Regions from separate parts of the Homo sapiens genome. Here region 2 is linked to region 1. The links are contacts of gene promoters, found by promoter capture Hi-C in blood cells and fetal thymus (Javierre and others, 2016). All regions are on one chromosome and are shown on one strand. The core of a region is centred on a gene start or on the middle of the fragment in contact, and the rest is flanking DNA. Distances in the headings are between cores, read along the strand shown. Region 1 holds the start of ARHGEF33 (Rho guanine nucleotide exchange factor 33). Region 2 holds the start of MAP4K3 (mitogen-activated protein kinase kinase kinase kinase 3).

Region 1 (6,768 bases), core at 1,198-3,697:
CAATGATGTGGGGAAATTGGAGGCCTCACACATTTCTGGTGGGAATATAAAATGGTGCAGCTGCTGTGGAATACATTTCCTCAAAATATTAGACATAGAGTTACTACGTGACTCAGCAGTTCCTAGGTATGTACGCAAGGGAATTGACTTGCACACGAATGTTCATAGCAACATTATTCATTGCTATAGTCTGAATGTGTCCTTCCAAAATTCATGTTTAAACCTAATTTCCTCACGACTGTAATCCCAATACTTTGGGAGGCCAAGGTGGGTGCATCATTTAAGGTCAGGAGTTTGAGACCAGCCTGGCCAACATGGTGAAACCTCCTCTCCACTAAAAATACAAAAATTAGCCAGGCGTGGTGGTGTGTGCCTGTAATCCCAGCTACTCGGGAGGCTGAGGCACAAGAATTGCTTGAAACTGGGAGGTGGAGTCTGCAGTGAGCCAAGATGGCGCCACTGCACTCCAGCAGGGGCAACAGAGTGAGACTCTGTCTAAAAACAACAACAACAACAACAAAAACCTAATCTCTACTGTGGTAGTATTAAGAGTTGAGGCCTTTAGGAGGTGATTAGGTTATAAGGACAGAGCCCTCATGGATGGGATTAGTGCCCTTATAAAAGAGATGTGAAGGAGATTGCTTGCTTCTTCTGTCACAAGAGAATGATGCAAGAAGGTGCCATCTTTGAAGAAGAGAGCAAGTCCTTACCAGACACTAAATCTGCTAGTGCCTTGATCTTGGACTTAACAGCCTCCAGAACTGTGAGCAATACATTTCTGTTGTTTAAAATTACCCTGTCTAAGGTATTTTCTTATAGCAGTTCAAATGGACTAAGACATGTATAATAGCCCCAACTGGAAACAATCCAAATGTCCATCAACTAATGAATGTGTAAACAAAATGTCCACATAATGGAATATTATTCAGCCATAAAAAATGAAGTACTGATACTACAACATGGATGAACTTCAGAAACATTGTACTGGCCAGGCAGGTGGCTCATCCTGTAATCCCAGCACTTTGGGATGCCAAGGTGTGTGGATCGCTTGCCAGGAGTTTGAGACCAGGCTGGGCAGCATGGCAAAATCCCATCTCTACAAAAAATACAAAAATTAGCCAGGTGTGGTGGCACATGCCTATAGTCCCAGCTACTTGGGAGGACTGCTTGAGCCCAGGAGGCAGAGGTTGCAGTGAACCAAGATCATGCCACTGCACTCCAGGATGGGTGACAGAGCAAAACTTCATCTCAAAAACAACAAACAAACAAACATTGTACTAAGTGAAAGGAACCAGTCACAAACGGCCACATATTATATGATTCCATTTATGTGAAATGCTCTGAATAGGCAAATCCTTAGGGACAGAAAATAGATTAGTGGTTGCCAGGGGAGGAAGAAATTGGGAGGCATGAGGTTTCTAGAATTAGACAGTGGTGATGGTTGCACAGTCTTGAAAATGTACTAAAAACCACTGAATTGTTCATTTAACAGGGACAAATTTTATGTATGATGTGTAAATTATGTCTCAATTTCTTAAAAAGTAGATCTGTGTGTTGTCATATATTCTATGTCCAGAAAACTTCTTTACTTTTTACATAAGATAATTTAAAAATTACCAGAGCAGTATATGTCAACTACATTTAAAAAATTACAATAAAGACCTGAATGTTTTTGCTGAAACTCTATATTCTAAAACTGACAAAAAATAGTGTACACAATAGATAACTTCTTTGTCATATTTCTCTATTCAAAATCTTGTGAATATTTGTATTTCTCAATATGTTATTGCCAAAAGATGTATATTTTTATTTTTTGCTGTACTGGCACAAATTTGGGTTACAATGTCTTCTAAAATGTTAAAATAAAAATGGCATTTTTGTTAGTTTCTCATAATAATAGCTTTATGGCTAATTTTGAAAGACCCTATTTGTAAGTTTTCAAAGACACATTTTAAGAATTGGACATTTTTGTATATGTTGCTAAACATTAGCTGGCATGGCTTTAGAATTAAATATTATTATTATATGGAAATTCATGAAGAGACAAATACTGGACAAGTTAAGATAAGGTGAGAAGATGTTTTCAGGGACCAGGACATATAATTTAAATTCAAAAACTTCTGGAAAATATAGAAAAGTATCTGCTTTGCTGCAAAATAAATTTTCCCTAATTTTTTTCAATTTATTTAAGGCAGCAAGATATATATTTTACTCTTAAAATATTTAACTTGTATTGCTATGTTAATAACTTTTCAAAGTACAACTTTTCAATTTTCTAGTATACCAAAGATATTCCTCCTAAATGGGTTTCTTCCTTTTTACTCATTGAAACTAAATGCAGTTCAGTTATTTGATTAGTTGATGCTAGAATTTGACCTGGAGCTTATATAATTAGAAGAGACACTAGTTTTCCTCATTTAAAAGCCTGGTTAGCATACTACGGTCTCGTTTCAGGGGAAGTCAAGCCTCTCTACTGCTTCTTTTTATAACCTTTAAGTTAATTCAGAACCCAGATAAGCCTTGATCTGAGGATGATATAACCACCGCAGGCAACATGGGGTAAGTATGCGCTTTTATATGCTTTAAGGGGCACTGAAAGGGGAAACAATTTTATAAGAGATGAAAACCCATCAATCCTTACCACGTGGTGTACTAATTTAAATCCAATATATGCTAACATTTATTTGAGGTAGGCATTCAAAGAAATAACTTTTATTTAAGAGTTATAACAATTTGTAAAACATTTATTTCCTTGCTTAATTTTTATATTATGTCTTAACTGCGCTTTGCAGGTTATCGATAAACTGGAGACTGAAGTTGTTCTGCATATTAATAAATATAGTTGAAGATGAGTTAAATTTTGAGAGCAGTCTTAAAGAAAGGATGCTAGACAGCGTAAATCTGACATGGACATGCCTCTTTGGGATTAAGAATAATTAAAGAATGAAAAAGATTAGGGATGGAGGGAGATTGGTTTATTCCTTTCTAACACAGAAAAAGAATAGGGGAATCTTCAGCATTCACTCCCCTATGTACAGAACAAAAAACATATCCTGATTGAAAATGTGTACTGATTAATTACATGGGGGCTTTATTGGTGAAACCTAATTCTAAACACTTCATGGGGCTTTGGTGTGTAATGAGAAGAACTGAGTTTCACTTAAACATTGTCTTAAGTGAGAATAGCGTTCTATTATAATTAGTATTGGAATTATGTGAGTTTTTATATGCTGAAATAGTATTCTGAATATGTAGAAATCTCTATATCACCCTTTTATATTTTTAATAGCCCCTTTTAATACAAAATCATATTGCTGTAAATGGAATAGCTATTTCATTGAAGGCTACTTCTGAAGGATTCAACATAATGATCAGAAATGTATCCTAGAGAAAAAAGTTTTTGATGCACATTTATTCTAAACATTTTTCACAAACTGAATTAATTAATGTCTACATTTTTCATAACCATGGGCTCTGGAAATGCAATCTAAACTCATTTGAAAACTCAGAGGCTTTTGAAACAAGATGACCATACTATTGGTTTTTTTTTTTTTCTTTTTTCTTTTCTTTTTTTAGACAAGGTCTCACTTTGTCACCTGGGCTCAAGCAATCCTCCCACCTCAGCCCCCACAGGTAACTGAGACCACAGGTGCACACCACCACACCCGGCTAATTTTTGTATTTTTTGTAGAGATGGGGTTTCGTCATGTTGCTCAGGTTGGTCTTGAACTCCTGATCTCAAGCAGTCCTCCCACTTCAGCCTCCCAAAGTGCTGGGATTACAGGTGTGAGCCACCATGCTCGGCCTTATTGTTAACTTTTTCTTAATTCCCTTTATTTACCTTCCCTTTTCTCTGTGTATAAGGGTGTACTTCAACATAGCAGGCCAGTAATAAACTAAGTAATGTAGATACAAAGATCAACTGATCTTCCTCCTTCCCTTCCTCTCTCCTTTCCTCCCTTCCTCTCTCCCTCTTCCTTCCTTTCTTTTTCTTTAATGACAGCAGTTCTTAACCTTTTCGGTGTCAAGAATTGCTTTTAGAATCTTCAGAAACCAGTCCACCATTTCTGCAAAAAAAAAAGTAAAATCACACAAAATTTTGCATACAATTTCAGAAGATTTACAGGTGACCTGAAACCCTATTCCTGGGACCACAGGTTAAGACCCTTAGACTTTGATTTTAGGACTGGAGTATGATTTGTTCAATATTTCTCTTTGTTTGGATTTTTATAAATGTAAGAATCTTTAAATTCATAATTCTTGCTAATCTTCTCAAGGACAGTGTGGAAGATTCCCCACCCGCCCCCCACACAATTTACATGAGTGTGAAACACAGTTTAACCAACATGCATCACATTACTGCTGCTGGGCCCCAAGGACTTGACTAATCACTTGTGCCTTTTGAGAGTGCCAGGAATCACCTTGGGAGTCATGGAAGGAAAAAAAACCCTCATTATGTTATTTGTAAAGCACTTTGAATGCCCCAAATAAGATGAACGAAACAAATCATAAATGCTAATATTACAGAGAGCACTCTTCTGATTGGTATGTTCATGATTATTTTGTTGTCTGTTCATGCCTTTACTGACAAAAAGACAGGGTAGTAAGTATTAACATCTGTTTGAGTCTTCCTAAAATAATCAGAAAAATAAAGAAAAAGTGGCAGCTAATCGGATTCTCAAATTTATCCATTTGAGGAAATCTCTAGAATTTATTTCCTGAGAATGAGGGAGTAGCTGTTTTGGATTTGTCTTTGGGGCCTACTTATCTCAAATGATTTGAGGATATAATTCCCTTATATGGGGCAATGCCAGCCCTTTCCACCTTTCCCCAGGCTATGCTGGCATGGTTTTAGCAAGCAATGAAGAAGCAAATACTGGAAAATTCTTATGCTCTCTAAAAAAATCTCCTCCTCGTAATTTTCACTGGGTTTTTTATGGAGTGTGTGAGTAGGTGGGGTGGGTAGAGATGATGCCTAAAGGTGGGTAAACAGATAACTGGGGAAAAGTAGAAAAACCTAACTGACATCTGCTAAGTACCATAACACCCGGGCAAAGGATGAACAATGGGAAAGAAAGGATGGTTGTATTTCTTTTTTGAGACATTTTAAAATGTGCTTTCCCCATCTCCTAGCAGAGTTAGTCAGTGCACCCCCAATTGACAAAAACAAAAGTTAAGGCTCTGCTAAAATTGTAGAACCAAGTTCATTATTATAGCATATTCAGCCTCCTTTTAGTCTCCTGGTTCAAATAAGTTAGAGTAATTTTAAAAATTATCTTATGACATATTTCCTCCTTCTGAATCTGAGAGTGACTATCCAACTCTTTTTCTTGGGTGAAGCATACATTTGGCTCATGGAGCAACCTTTGAAATGTCGCTTCTATCTGTGCCCTCCTTTCCTTTCTAAGAGTCACTTCCCTAATTCAGGTCATCATTATCTTTTACTTGAGTTATTAAAGGTGCCTGCTCACTGGCCTCTTTGCAGCTGCTCTTTCCTCTACAGTGCCACTAAGTCATCTTCTTACCAGAGATATGTGATCTTGTTATACCTCTGCTTAAACATTTTCAATGACTCATTCTCTCCACTGCAGAGCAAGCTCCAAAGAAGAGATTCAAGGCTCTCTATCTGCCCCCAATCTACCTGTCTAGCCTCACCTTCTACTCTACCTTCTTTGCTCCCTAGGGTTCCTAAATCCACCTAGGCCTTGTGCTTTGTTCCTCTGGTAATCCTTTTTTTTTTTTTTTTCTTTTTTTGAGACAAGGTCTCACCCTGTTGCCAGGGTGGAGTGCAGTGGCACAGTCTTGGCTCACTGCAACCTCTGCCTCCTGGGTTCAAGCAATTCTCCTGCCTCAGCCTCCTGAGTAGCTGGGATTACAGGCACCCGCCACCATGGGCTAATTTTTGTACTTTTAGTAGAGACAGAGTTTCACTATGTTGGCCAGGCTGATCTCGAACTCCTGAGCTCAAGCGATTTACCTGCCTCAGCCTCCCAAAATGCTGGAATTACAGGTGTGAACCACTGTGCCTGGCCCCTCTGGTGATCCCCTTTTGACCGTTTCTACATATCATGCAAAGCCTGGCTCAAATCCTATCTTCTTAATGAAGCTTTCTCTAATCCCCACAAGGGAATTCATCTTTTCTCTGAAAATTTTAGGCACTTTACACTTTTCTTTTTCATTTGTCACAATCCATTATATGTTACAGTTATTTATGTGTCTCATCTTCCCTTCTAGACTGGAAGCAGAAACAATGGCATCCTTTCATTTCTCCTAGCACCTGGTACAATGCCTTTTATGTGGTATATGCTTATTAAATACTTGTTGAATGCACGTGAACTCTGTTTAAACCCCTAAAAACTTAATTTTAGCCAAACTTTCTTTCTTTTTTTCCCAAGTGAGTTACCTCATTTTCCAGGTTTCTATCTGAAGAGCTCAAATGAGTGAGTAGTATCTAAAATGTAGGCAATTCAAGGGAGATAGGGCACAAACAAGGGCTGGAGTGAAGACTTCTAAAGTCTGAAGACTGAAGACTGAAGACTGTTGTTAATAAGCAGAAAGCACACATAGGCTCCAAGGAAATATAAGAAAACTTTCCAGAATTAAAAATCGTTCTTGCCAGGCTGGCTCACTCTTTTGATCCCAACACTTTAGGAGGCCGAGACACTGGGATCATTTCAGCCCAGGAATTCGAGACCAGCTTGGGCAACGTGGCAAAACCCCATCTCTACCAAAAACAAAAAACAAAAAACAAAAAAATTAGCCAGGCAT
Region 2 (6,768 bases), core at 1,075-3,574, 550 kb after region 1:
AATCATGTGGCTTAACTACTAACTGTTCTTTTTAATATAGCAAGTACACAGCCAATTAGTCCTGTAAAAAAATTCACTGTATACCCTGCCACCTAAAACGTATACATTCATCGAGTTTTAGTTAACTTTTCATCGCAATATAAGCGAACTCCCCCAACCAGTCATAAGTGACTTGCATCCATCCACTTCTACTTTCACAGTCATCACCATATTCCTTAACACCATTATTCTTACCTAGACTATCACAGTGGCCTCCCAACTGCTCCATTCCACTCTTCATGCTGTAGTAGGGAGCTCTTTTAAAAACCTAAATCTAATGTCACTCCTCTGCTTAAAAGCCTGCAATAGTTCCCCATTGTCCTAAACAAGTCCGATCTCCTAATGAGAACTAAGAGGCCTGCAAGATCTAGGGCCACCCTCCCGCTCTGGCTGCTCAGGCTATACAGGCCTTCTTTCACATCGGGCCTCAGAGCCTTCACATATCATGCTCCCCTATCTGGCGTAATCCCCTCTCCCCAGTACCCTAAGCAACGCCTAATCATCTCTGAGATCTCAGCTGAAAGGCGATGAGCGTCTGATACCCTAAACAGGATCAGGTCCTCCTATTACATGCTCTCATAACCCTGATCCTAATACTCTTTTCTGCATCACAAAATTAAACGGCAATAATTATTTAAATGGCTATTTAATACTGTCCTTGTCCAAAAAAATAGAAACACTTAGGAAGATTTGGAACCAAGTCTATCGTTTACTGCTACAACCCAAAGTGCTTACTTGCCAAGTATCTCATACATTGTAGGTGGGCTCAATATATCTATATTGCATAGTAGGAAAAGTGATGAGATCCACGATGGTGAAAAGTAGATCATCCAGAAAATCAGACTAAAGCAGAACACTGGCTGCACTGTATTAAATATGTAAGTTACCACAGGCATTACACTGAAGAGTAAAAACCTGCTTAAACATGGGCAAAATAAAGTTAAGACTGAACTTTCCAATGCAAAATTAAGTTTCTTTGTGCATCCTCAGGTGTTATGTGAAACTGGAGGAGTTCAACTTCAGTTACCAGTAAGAAGATACACAACTAAATCAAGACTGCTGCCACATTTGGCAACAACCTCCTCTCTTCTTGGCAGTAACTGTGAGGCCAAGAGTTGAGTTGGCCAGGGAAGAGTGATTTATCTTCCCACATTTAGAAGTGGTCCCTCTACAACAGGAATGCTGTACCGCTACTGGACTTTGAATTCTAACCTTGTCAAACCAGTACCTTCCCTAAGTATTCAAGTCACTTTTTAAAAAACAAGTTTAAATGGCATCGCAGTCCAATTCGACTTAGAGAAAACAAAGTTGCTCTTTCCAAAAAAAAAAAAAAGTCATTACTCTGGAAAATTAAAAGAAACTGACAGGGGGATGAATAAGGCGCTAAAGGCTGAGAGCTGTCGATGGAAGATGGAGGTCGCTCAGCATAGTATAATAACTACCACCGAGGCCTGGTGGGCAGCAGCTCCCAACCTAGAGCGGACGACCCCAGGTTGGCGTGAAGCAGGCAGGTTTGACAACACCAGACCCCTGCTGTCCGGTTCGTCGCGCTGACCCTGCCAACGCAACAAACGCCCAGACCTTCTCTGCACTATGGATGAGCAGTGTGGCCTGCTCTCGTTCTGCCCTTCCCTGGAAATGCGCGCAAGAAGGGAGGTGGCAAAAATCATGTCCACCGGGGGGGCTCAGGTAAGGGCTGGGGAGGTCTCGGGGTTAAACATTCGGCCCTTTGTTCACCAAGGCAGCAGAGCCCTTGGCGTCCGCAGCTCCTCCTCCCCGACTGCTCCCTGGCGCCAGCGTCTCCCGAGGACAGGCGGCAAGGGCTCGGACGCCCAGGCTTGGCTGCGGGTCGGGATCCCACGGCCTCGGCGGCGCGCGGCCCCTGCCTTTACCTTGTAGACGTCGCCGTAGGTGCCGCTGCCGATGCGCTGAATCAGCTCGAAGTCCTCCTGCGGGTTCCGGCGGGACAAATCGAAGCCGGGGTTCATGGCGGGCCCCAGGTGCCCCCCGCCTCCCTCCCGGGCAGGGGAGGGGGGCCGCTCAGGGGGCCACACGGAGAGAGGGCGCCGCGGCCGGCTCCCGGCTCCCCCGGCGGTCACAATCACCCGGCTCCACGCTGCGGCCGCCGCCGCCGCCGCCGCTCCCCTCACGCCGCTGCGGACGACGACAAGCGGCCAATCGTCCCCGCCCCCCGCGGCCCGCCGCCGCGCCGAACCTGGTCACACCCACAAGGAGAGGAGAACCCTCGCAGCCCCTCGCTCGGGGTGAAACTCCAACATGGCTTCCGCTTTCGCCGCTCCTCCCCCTCCCCTTACTCCGGCTCCTCCAACCTCCTCCCCTTTTCCCGACTCCCGCCCGACTGCGCAGCCGCGATCCCGGAGGGAGCGCGCCAGGCCTGGCGCGCACCCGACCCCTTGCGCGTTCCGGCTCCGCGCGCCTGCCAGGCCGGGGCCGGCGGCGGAACAGCTTGGGACCCGAAACGCCTCGGCTTTTCTGCGGACCCGCGCCCGGCCGCTGCCGCCGGACGCTTGAAAAGGTTTGCCTGGCCCAGGGACCGGGGTTAGGACTAGCAGAAAGTGGCTTCTTTTCGTTTCTGATTCCCCTAACGACAAAGTTGGACCTTGGTCTATCTGGTCCCAGTTCCAAGCAGGTAGCATAGTGGTAATATCCAAGACAGCCAATGTCCCAGCCTTTATTATTTTAGAAGCAGCTACATGTAGGATACCATGGAGTGCTGCAGCCTTTCTGGGATTGCGGGGAGGGGTCACTAAACACACCGTGAGGAAAACCCCCAGGAAAAGTGAGCTGTGCTTGCTTGCCCCTGTCACCGACACTCGGACCCTTGGAGTTGGCCTGCCAGGGTGCAAAGGAGGGCAGGCCAGGAGGGCCGCGAGGGAGGTGTGTGCAGTGGGCAGAGCGTGAAAGCTCCGGGAGGAAAACACGCGGAACAGCTGCCCACCATCCCGCGTGGGAGGCAGGCAGAGCGCAGAACTAAAGCAGTGATTGACCTCCCTCTTCGAAGAGGGTTGGATTATCAAAGACGGGCGGGGACTGCGCAGGCTGTCAAGCAACCCTGTAAAGAAGGGGTGGAGAGTGGACTAGATCTATTACCGCACCTGAAATATAAACACGTGACGATCCGGAAGCTCTTTAGCTGTGACCTTACCTACCCAAAAACCCCACCCTGCTTAAGACCCAGATTGCGCGTCTTACATCTGAGCTATGTGGACTCCAGCTCCGATTGTTAATACTTGCCCAAGAAAGCTTGAGGGTAATGGAAGGTTATTTTTCTGTTCTCATTGAACTTCCCAATAGACATTTGCAGGAGCTTTAATCAATTAGGTGATGGCCACTTTGGCAATACCACGTTGGAGTTTTGCTTCAGAAATGCTTTCCTAATCCCCTTAGGCACCACACCTTCTAACCACTAATATTCCCTAATACCTCGTGGCTCCTGAGAAACTAGGTCTCATCAAACCTGTTAAGGATAAGTATAATAAATTAATAGTAGAGCAAACTACTTAGAGTTAACTGCTTCATACTTTTTCAAAAAATCTTTTGAATCCTTTTGCTCATAGGAAAATTGCATATGTACTAAATTCTCAAATTGTTTACTTTGAGTATCTGTTGACTAAATTGATGTTTGAAAATGGTTATCTCTTCACCTATATAAGTAGCCTTTCAGTTGTGTAATTTTTAATTATTAAATTTTAAAGCATCAGTAATATGAAAGTATCACTTAAATTATTGCCTTAGGAGTGCATATCATTGAATATCTTCTCGATGGATCTACCTTCAGGCTCTGGTATCTTGAGAAACTCCTGACTATAAATGTTATTCCATAGCCAAAGGTCTTGCTTTTGCTTGTTTAAGGTACTTGCCCAGGACCCAGATTACAGGCCTTCCTTCAGTTTGTCCACATTTGGAGAATTGTTTGGCATGTTTAGGCCAAGCGCAAGAATAATTAGCCAAGGATTCAGATAAGCAGACCTGACAAATTATCCCAAATGGAAGCCAGGTCTGCTCTTTTCCTCTGCCTTTTTTTTTTTTTTTTTTTTGAGAAGGAGTTTCGCTCTAGTTGTCCAGGCTTGAGTGCAAGGGTGCAATCTCAGCTCACTGAAACCTCTGCCTCCCGGGTTCTTAGCGATTCTCCTGCCTCAGCCTCCCAAGTAGCTGGGATCACAGGCATGCAACACCACACCCAGCTAATTTTTGTATTTTTAGTAGAGATGGGATTTCTCCTTGTTGGTCAGGCTGCTCTTGAACTCCCGACCTCAGATGATCCGCCTGCCTCGGCCTCCTGAAGTGGTGGGATTACAGGCATGAGCCACTGCACCCGGCCTCTGCCTTTTTAGTGCCAGAAAGCCAAATTCTCAGGACTGAAAGCTGCACAAGAAAGTTCTAATGACTTCAGTGTTTTGTTTGCTGAGATTATCGTCTGTCCAAATAACTTTGCATTTGCATCACTAATAGACTGCTTTCAAAAGGAAAAGACATTTCAGTAGGGCTAGAACAGTCTTTAAAGTTTTGTCTGTTCCATTTTGGCAGGGCCAAGCTAGTCCTTTTGAGAAGAGATGAATTTCCATGTAAGGGCCTGATTTGCCATGTGGGTTACAACATAAGTAAAACAACTGCTCACAAAGAAAATATTTTGTTTTTTGTAATATATGCATGTGGCCAATTCCAGTGCCTTTTCCCCCTGTTCTAACAATCCTCAGTTTTGCTAGAAGTAACACTAATGATCACACTTTCCTAGAATCAGAGAAAGAGCTTCCCTCTTCTATGATTAGAAGCATTCTTAGAAGTCATCTAATCTTTTTAACTCAGGAACTGCTTCTACAGCATCTCTGCTGGATTTGCTGCTGCTTGAATACTTTCAATAAAAGGTGACTCATTGCTTCCCAAAACAACCCACCTCGTTGTGATACAGTGCTAGTAAATGATCATAATAACTAGGAGAAAAGTAGTAATTTCTAACATTGCTAAGTGCTTACAAGATACCAGGAATGGAGCCAAGTATTTTTCATGTGTTATTTCATTTAATTCGCACAACAACCTAATGACATAGGTAATATTATCTCCATTTTATGAGGCACAGACAGATTAAACTGCTCAAGGTAACACAGAAGGCTGAAATTTGAACAAAGGCAGTATGACACCAAGGCTAGATTCTTAGCCACTAGTCTATACTCTGCTTATATACAATATACTGTAAAAAATTTCTCTTATGGTAAGCCAACCTCTACCTCCCTGTAATGTATTTAGAGGCAATGATTATTAGATTCTGGTGGTATTGAATACAGAAAAGAAAAGCCACAATGCCTTCCCTCAAGGAGTTGACAGTCTCATAAATAGTGTGAGAAGCACAGAGAAGGGACATTAATGCAGACGGGAGGAAGATTTAGGAATGACCCCTTGGCTGGGCGCAGTGGCTCATGCCTGTAATCCCAACACTTTGGGAGGCCGAGGCGGGTGGATCACCTGAGGTCAGGAGTTCAAGACCAGCCTGGCCAACATGGTGAAACCCCATCTCTACTAAAAATACAAAAATTAGCTGGGCGCGGTGGCACGTCCCCTGTAATCACAGCTACTCGGGAGGCTGAGGCAGGAGAATCACTTGAGCCGGGAGGTGGAGGTTGCAGTGAGCTGAGACTGCACCATTGCACTCCAGCCTGGGCAACAGAGGAAGCGTCCGTCTCAAAAAAAAAAAAAAAAAAAAAAAAAGGAATAACCCTAAAGCTGAACCTTGAAAAATGCATAGGCAGACAAGGGAAAGTGGTGCATGACAGGCTGGCTGCTTAGCGCCTTGAAGCACCTACCCGTTTAAGCATCACACAGCAAGGAACACAAGAAGGCCAAGATAGGCAGCAGTCCCCACCTGCCAGCATGTCCAGGCCATCCTTCTATTGCCCCATCCCCCATGGGTTTCTGGCTTAGGAACCCCTTGATCCCCTGCACAGGCTCCCAATTTCATCCTCGACCTCTTGTCTGACAACTCACTGGAGCCCCTTCTTTGGCCTATTAACCTCAGCCCTCCTCATATAACATAACCACCACTCACATTTTCAGTACATTAGCTGCTCTGGAAACAGGATACTGAGCAAGCCTTAGCTCAAAAAAATGCCAGAAGCAGGTCATCCACCAGGGGAGGAAAATCACACAGAGAGCATGTATGTGAAATAATATGGCACATACAACAGACAATTGTGCTTAAATTCTGAAGACAGAGGGAGATGGTGGCAATGGAGCTAAAAAAATCAGGTTTCTTTTTTTAATTAAAAAATTTTTATTTATGGCCAGGCGCTGTGGCTCACACCTCTAATCCCAGCACTTTGGGAGGCCGAGGCGGGTGGATCACCTGGGGTCAGGAGTTTGAGACCAGCCTGACCAACATGGTGAAACCCTGTCTCCACTAAAAAAAATACAAAACTTAGCCGGGAGTGGTACCACGTGCCTGTAATCCTAGCTATTCCGGAGGCTGAGGCATGAGAATCGCTTGAACCTGGGAGGAGGAGGTTGCAGTAAGCTGAGATTGCACCACTGCACTCCAGCCTGAGTGACAGAGTGAGATTCTATCATTAAAAAAAAATTATTTATGTATTTCATTTCTCCCCAGCTTTAAATTGAGGCATAATGGGCAAATAAAAATTGAATGTCTTTACAGTGTACAATGTGATGTTTTGATATATGTATATGTTTTGAAATGATTACTACAGACCAGCTAGAAAA

What was found. The method cuts DNA at HindIII sites, captures the fragments that hold promoters and counts their contacts. A CHiCAGO score of 5 or more calls a contact.
Region 2: a contact is called between the fragment with the promoter of MAP4K3 here and the fragment with the promoter of ARHGEF33 in region 1, in 13 of 17 cell types (naive CD8 T cells, neutrophils, total CD4 T cells and 10 more). The highest score is 11.6, in naive CD8 T cells.

Annotation. Positions count from the first base shown.
Region 1 is chr2:38,887,428-38,894,195 of GRCh38, forward strand. ARHGEF33 (Rho guanine nucleotide exchange factor 33) reads left to right here and starts at 2,448. Exons shown (of 18, transcript NM_001145451.5): 1 at 2,448-2,559. The HindIII fragment of the contact is 7,511 bases long and covers 1-6,104 here.
Region 2 is chr2:39,434,961-39,441,728 of GRCh38, forward strand. MAP4K3 (mitogen-activated protein kinase kinase kinase kinase 3) reads right to left here and starts at 2,325. Exons shown (of 34, transcript NM_003618.4): 1 at 1,932-2,325. The coding sequence starts at 2,027. It overlaps MAP4K3-DT (MAP4K3 divergent transcript), which reads left to right and starts at 2,456. Exons shown (of 6, transcript NR_037875.1): 1 at 2,456-2,575. RefSeq lists an enhancer at 1,519-1,598 and silencers at 1,929-2,288, 2,359-2,578. The HindIII fragment of the contact is 5,405 bases long and covers 1-3,301 here.